Regions from separate parts of the Homo sapiens genome. Here region 2 is linked to region 1. The links are contacts of gene promoters, found by promoter capture Hi-C in human tissues and cell types (Jung and others, 2019). All regions are on one chromosome and are shown on one strand. Each heading gives the region's core, a stretch centred on a gene start or on the middle of the fragment in contact. The rest is flanking DNA. Distances are from core to core; before and after follow the strand shown.

What was found. Contacts are between HindIII fragments. The study calls those that stand out against the background at their distance.
Region 2: a contact is called between a fragment that was not itself captured here and the fragment with the promoter of CA4 in region 1, in 1 of the 25 tissues and cell types used here (lymphoblastoid cells).

What each region holds. Positions count from the first base shown.
Region 1 is chr17:60,148,336-60,151,996 of GRCh38, reverse strand. It overlaps CA4 (carbonic anhydrase 4), which reads right to left and starts at 2,024. Exons shown (of 8, transcript NM_000717.5): 1 at 1,905-2,024. The coding sequence starts at 1,962. The HindIII fragment of the contact is 35,208 bases long and covers 1-3,661 here.
Region 2 is chr17:60,650,227-60,653,887 of GRCh38, reverse strand. The region is part of intron 4 of PPM1D (protein phosphatase, Mg2+/Mn2+ dependent 1D); the gene reads right to left. Among named protein-coding and RNA genes, the nearest start is that of BCAS3, 26 kb to the left of the region's middle. RefSeq lists a silencer at 1,287-1,336. The HindIII fragment of the contact is 7,187 bases long and covers 1-3,661 here.

The sequences.
Region 1 (3,661 bases), core at 775-3,274:
CCTCTGAGGGACAGGGGATAATCCTGAAAAACAGCTCAGCACAACCCAAGTGTTTCCTGGGCAAAGTCTCAGTCGCTCCCGGCCAGGGGTCTGGGGCTCTGAAGGGGACCAAATATCCTCACCCGGCCTCTTGTCTCAATGGACAGAGATGCTCTGGGGGTCGCCATATGCAACCTGGTCCCTTCTCAGCTTGAGTCCTCCATAAGATGAATGGAAGGCAGGTCCCAGTCAGAAAGCCTTGGCACTAAAGGGGATAGCAGCTTGTGTGAGGGGTGAGCTGAGACACATTCCTGACACTGGCCCCAGGCTTGGGGGAGAGCCCCATAAACTTGGTATATGACACACCAGCCACGTGCCACACAGGCACCGCACTAATCACTTAAACCCATTATCTTATTCAAACGCTTAAAACCCCTGAAGTCAGAATGACAACACCTGTTTTGCAAATGGGACAGGAAGTGACTTACCCAAGACCACACAGCTACAAAGCACCAGAACTGCAAAGCATTTCTCTTTCTACTTTCTAGCTGCTTAGTAGGTTTCCAATGTCCAACCCTACAAATAAAAGTTTCCACATTCTGCTTTTTCTCTTTCTTCTCCCAGGGGCCCGGTGGAGAGGCTGCAAGGTGCCCCTCGACCCTCTAAGACAGCTCAGCCAGTCCCTGCTGCAAAGGGCACACGCTGGCTCCTCTCTGTGCAGAGGACACCTTCACCCCTCACTCCGCCGCTTTGAGGATGGAGCACCTAACTTGGGAGAGGAGGTTTCAGCCTGCGTGGACCCCAAGAACCATCCGAGGGGTGGTTGGGCTGAGAACTGGCAGAGGGGGTCTTCCGGTGATGGGGTCTGGGGTTGCAAAGAAGGTGCCTCCAGGATCGGATCCCTGTGCCCAGCCGCTTGAAGCGCCTTTAGCTTCTTATCAAATATTAACATGCCTTTCCTGCCACCTCCCACCTAGAGGAATAATTAAGAGCTCGGCTTCACCATTAATCTTTAAACGAAAATCACCCTGTCCGGAAAGACCGGCTCCGCAGAGGCCTTGGGGCTCCGGGTCCCCCACCCCCCGCCCCCGCCAGGCTCCCAATTCAGCGCTGGAGGTTAGGGAGGCCAGGGGAGCTTGCGACCCTCAGGGGCAAGGAACCCGTGTGGGAAGCGCGGCTTCCAGGACCCTGCCAGACCGCCCTTGCTCTGGCCGCGGGGCAGTCACCCAGCGCTGAGTCCCAGCGGGACGGACGGAAACCCACGGGCAGACGGAGGAGGCTGGGTGAGAAAAGAAGGCGTGCGTTGAGGCGGGTCCGAGAAGCATCCTTTTTTTTTTTTTTTTTTTTTTTTTTTTTTTTTTTTAAACGGAGCACCAGGCTGGAGTGCAGTGGCGTGATCTCACTGCAACCTCCACCTCCTGGGTTCAAGCGATTCTCGGGCCTCAGCCTCCCGAGTAGCTGGGATTACAGGCGTGTGCCACCACGTCCGGCTAATGTTTGTATTTTTGGTAGAGATGGGATTTCACCATGTTGGCCATGCTGGTCTCGAACTCCTGGGCTCAGGTGATCCACCCGCCTCTGCCTCCCAACGTGCTGGCATTTCAGGCTGGAGCACCCGCGCCCGGCCTGAGACGCATCCTTATCAGGGACTCCCAACTCGTCTCGCCGGGCCACGCGCACACACCCTCACCGCGCACACCCGTGCACACGCTCCCCCAGCCGGTGCTGACACGCGTGTGCACACACAAGCTCGCGCGCTGCCCAGTCCTCCCGCACCCTCGCGGCCCCCGGCGCACACGCAACCCGGGACCCCAGCGCCACCGACGCTCACCGGTCGCCCGCGGGGGGATCCTCTGCAGGGGCGGGAGCTGGGGGCACGGAGGGGACCGCCGAGGGGCACCTGGGGCCGGAGCCCGGGAGCTCACCTGCACTGGCCGATGGCCGCGCCGCGGAGAGGGCCAGGAGCGCCAGCAGCATCCGCATCTTGCGGGACAGCAAAGAGTCCTCTGAGCCGGGGGTCGCGCACCGAGGAGGCCGCCGCGGGTGCAGCGATCCTGCCGGCCTGGGTTTTATAGCGGAGCCGCGACGGGAGGGAGCCCCGACAGCTGGACGCGGGAGGCGGCTCCTCCCCCTGGCGGGGCCTGCCCTCCCCTCTCCACCTTCCCCTGTCCCTCATCTGAAATCCTCCGCTCTCCCCGGTCCCCCGCCCTGCCTGGCCACCTCTTGCCCTGTGCGCAAGGCCCCCTCACCCACTCCGCGTCCTCTCCACTCAGCAGCGGCGCCCTGCCCCTCCCCCATCCTACTCCTGGTCCCTGGTTTGGGAACAGGGACACGACACCACAAAGTGCTTGACCCACACAAAGATGAGTGCCCCATGATGACTTTGATCATTCTGGCGCCACCCCTGCGCAGTGGTCTTGAATGGGACCTTGGAATGGCCTTGGGGTGGGGGTGGGGGTGGGGGTGGAGATGGCCTCGAAGAGATGAGAGGCTGAGGGGCGTGTGATGCCGTTTGTTGAATCAGTGGCCGCAGAAAGGCTCTCCTATCTCTCTTTGGCAGTGGCCATTGATTCTCTGGGTCTCATCTCTTCTATTTCCTCCCAGGCTGCTCCAAACTTAATTTCTAAGCAGACCAAAGACCTTTCTTCGAATACAGAGCAAAGCTGTCCCTAAACTACTGCCCTTGCTGGTGTTTATGTGATGACCAGGGAGGGTTGATGGGGCAGAATTAAGAAATGGATTGTAAGAGGATTCGGTGAGGGAGAAGCTGATGGGGTCAAAGGGGAGGAGCTAGGTTCTTTGAGCCCCCCAGGTGGAGAGATGAGATGGGAAGAGAAGAGACTGGGGTCTGAATGGACCCCTGGTTCTCCCATCTGGCAAGACCTCCAGAGGAGTCCAGGGGAAGTTCCCTTAAGGGCGGCTCCAACATTTGGGGAAATGGGGTCCCCCCCATGCCCCCAAGCTGCCTCTTGTCTCCTCTCTTAGCTGTGCCCTCCTGCTACTGCAGGTCCTCTGTGTCCCACATGGGGTGGGGGCTTCTGTGGGAGTTTGGGAAGCTCAGGCTGGGGTGCGGGAGAGGGACGGGGAACCAGGCAGTGGACCTGGACCTCCTCCATCAATCCATCAACAGGAAGCCCCCTTTTTCTGGTTTAGCCACTCCCCATCCGCTGCCAACCTCTCAGTCCCTACCGACCTTCGAACCTGGGCTAGGGACTTCTGAAGGGGGATTGCCTCCCCCAGAAGGATTCAGGCAAAGATGCTTCCTCCTTGCTTAGGGTTGAGGCTGACTCCCCGCTCCTGGCCCAGGATCACACAGCCTCACAGAGCAGCTTTGATCCTACAGAGAGGCAGGAGGGAGGTGAGGGGGTGTCCATGCCAGGCTTAGGGCTCTATTGTCAACACCACTGTATAATGTAATCACCAGCCTGCGACCATGACAGCCACAGGAGGGATTCCACACCCAGAGCCTATTCTGGGGAGTGCATTTGTGTTCACAGGGCTATAAAAATGTCCCTTTCAGGACTGAGGAAGCCTGTTCCTGGGAATAAAAACCACCCCCAGGGAGTCCCTGTGACCTCTGGCCAGCCCCCTGATGAGCAGGGGAGAGGCTTGGGAAACTTTGGTGGGGTTAAGGGACTGTTGATCAATGATCCACTTTAAAGTTCATTGCATTCAGGCCCCC
Region 2 (3,661 bases), core at 756-3,255, 500 kb before region 1:
AGGATACAAGATGAACATACAAAAATCAGCAGCATTTACATATACCAACAGCAAACAATCTGAAAAAGAAATCAAGAAAGCAATCCTATTTCCAATAGGTACACAAATTATAAAATGCCTAGTAATCAATTTAACCAAAGATGTGAAAGATCTATAAAGGAAAACTAGAAAATACTGATGAAAGAAATTGAAGAGGACACAAAAAGATACAAAGGTAGTCCATGCTTATGGATTGGATGGATTAATATTGTTAACATGACAATACTACCCAAAGCAATTTAAAGATTCAATCCCTATCAAAATTGAAATGACATTCTTCACATAATTTTTTCTTTAAGCTCAGAATTCATATGAAACCACAAAATATCCTGAATAGCCAAAGCAATTCTAAGCCAAAAGAACAAAGCTGGAGGCATCACACTACCTGACTTCAAAACTATACTAGAGGGCTACAGTAACCAAAATAGCATGGTACTGCTACAAAAACAGACACATAGACCAATGGAACAGAACAGAAAACCTATGTATAAATCCACGCAATTTGCAGCCAGCTCATCTTCAACAAAGGTGCCAAGAGCAACAATAAATGGTAGGGGGAAAACTGGATAACTATATGCTGAAGAATGAAACTATACCCCTATCTCTCATCACACACAAAAATCAAATCAAAATGGATTAATGACTTAAATCTAAGATCTCAATTAGTAGAATTGGTAACCACAATTCTATTCCCTCTGTGAGATCTACTTTGATCTCACAAACTATGAAACTACTAGAAGAAAACAACATTGGAGAAACGCTCCAGGACACTGTTCTGGGCAAATAATTTTTGCATGAGACCTCAAAAGCACTGGCAACCAAAGCAAAAATAGACAAATGAAAATACAAGCTAAAATGCAAAGGAAACAATCAACAAAGTGAAGAGAGAACCCACAGAATGGGATAAAACATCTGCAAACTATCCATCTGACAAGGAATTAACAACATGTAAGGAGCTCAAATCAGTAGCAACAAAACAAAACAAGCCCCAAATAATCCAATTTTAAAATGGGCAAAAGATCTAAAATACACATTTCTCAAAAGACATACAAATGATTAACAGATATATGAAAAAATGCTCAACATCACTAATCATCAGAGAAATGCAAATCAAAACCACAATGAGGTATCATCTCACTCCAGTTAAAACCACTTGCATCAAAAAGATAGGCAACTACAGATGCTGGTGAGGATGTGCAGAAAGGGGAACCCTCAGTGTTAGTGGGAATGTAAATTAGAGCAGCCACTACGAAGAACAGTATGAAGGTTCCTCAAAAAAAAAAAAAAAAAAAAAAAAACAGAAGTAAACTACCATATGATCCAACAATTCCACTACTATACATATATCCAACAGAAAGAAAATCAATACACTGAAGGTATATCTGCACTCCCATGTTTATTGCAGCACTATTCACAACAGTCCAAATATGGAATCATCCTACGTCAATTCCATTTAATACATGAATGGATAAAGAAAATGTGGTGTATATACACATACACAATGAAATAGTATTCGGCCATAGAAAAGAATGAAATCTTGTCATTTGCAGCAACAGGGATGGAACTGGAGGACATTATGCTAAATGAAATAATCCAAGCACAGAAAGACATGATCTCACTCATATGTGGCAGCTAAAAGAGTAGATCTCACAAAGAGAGAGAGTAGAATTGTGGTTACAAGAAGCCAGGAAGGGTAGTAGGGAGAGAGAGATGAAGGGTGGAAAAAAAGAATATAAATGGATTTTTTACTATTGAATTGTACAATTTCAAATAGTACAAATAGTAAATGTCATATGTATAGTATACTTCGAATTTTTTAAAGTGTGTTTTAAAAATCTCTATTTTTAAGTGTAGTTATGTCCACTCAAACTTTTTTGTGCTTTTCTCTTGAACTAGAAACAATCAATCATGCCTTATGTGTCTTCTTAAAAGACTGCCCTTCTGGGTTTTGTGAATCTCCCTAAATAATTAATTTCTGCTCTATTATTTTCAACCTCCTACTTTGAGGGGTTTTACTATGATATTCTTTTTTGTAACTCTGACTGGATCACTTAGATTGTTTTCTTCATGTAGAATACCATGAGCCTTGTGTTATGGATGCATCATTTTATGTGCCACAAACGAAATAAAAAACACTGTCGGCTGGGCGTGGTGGCTTGGCATGGTGGTTCACACCTGTAATCCCAGCACTTTGGGAGGCCGAGGTGGGTGGATCATGAGGTCAGGAGATGGAGATCATCCTGGCCAATGTGGTGAAACCCCGTCTCTACTAAAATAAAAAAAATTAGCCAGGCATGGTGGCGCGCGCCTGTAGTCCCAGCTACTCGGGAGGCTGAGGCAGGGGAATCGCTTGAACCTGGGAGGCAGAGGTTGCAGTGAGCTGAGATCGCGCCACTGCACTCCAGCCTGGCAACACAGCGAGATTACATCTCAAAAAAAAAAAAAAACCAAAAACACTGTTAATTGAACTGTGATATACCATTTGTAAAAAGTATTCCAATTTCAGAGATATTAAAAGAAAATATGCACCTCAGAATTGATTAAAGGCAGCATTAATCTCTAATTCATGAATCTATCACATTCCCTACGGCATGTGGTTCCACTCTCCAAACACCAGCTGACTGAGCCCTTACCTCTCACTTTTTCAGTGTGCCTGTTTCCCTTCCCATCAATGCTCTATGAAAACAATTATATAAACCATTTTCCACTATCTTACCTGTATATTTTTCCCTCAGCTCACTAGAATTCTGCTGACTTGAGTCCCCCTAATATTGTGTGCTCTTAAACCACAGAGTCTCTCTAAGTGCATATATTGCCACAATTTACGCAACTCTTGTTAACTGTTAAATTAGTATTTCCACGCTTCCCTCCCAAGTTTTTATTTTTAAAGAGATGAGGGTCTCACTATGTTGTCCAGGCTGGAGTGCAGTGGCTATTAACAAGTACAATCATAGAGCCCTACAGCCTTGAACTCCTGGGGTTAAGCAATCCTCCCACAGCCTCCTGAGTAGCTGGGACTATAGGAGCATGCCACCCCTCTCTCTCAAATATTTATAACTGCCTACTGAAGATATCTATCTAGATGAACCACAGGTACCTCAACTCAACATGCCTATGTCTGAACTAATTACCTCCCCCATCTCTCCCTAAATAATGTCTCTTCTTTATAACAGCTTACTAGTCACCAGAGTTAGAAATTTAGGTGTCATCATATTCTTCCTCCTTATAAACATAAGAGCTGTCAATTCTACTACTTATGTATTTGTGTTTTTTGTTGTTGTTGTTGTTGTTGTTGTTTTGAGATGGAGTCTCGCTCTGTCACCAGGCTGGAGTGCAGTGGCACGATCTCAGCTCACTGCAACCTCTGCCTCCTGGGTTCAAGCAATTCTCCTGCATCAGCCTCCTGAGTAACTGGGATTACAGGTGCGAGTCACCACGTCTGGCTGATTTTTGTATTTTTAGTAGAGATGGGGTTTCACCATGTTGGCCAGGCCGGTCTCGAACTCCTGACCTCAAGTGATCCACCTGCCTTGGCCTCCCAAAGTGCTGGGATTACAGGCTTGAGCCACTGCGCCCGGCCTACATGTATTTCTTTGTGTTTTTTCCAAAAACCACTGCTGCC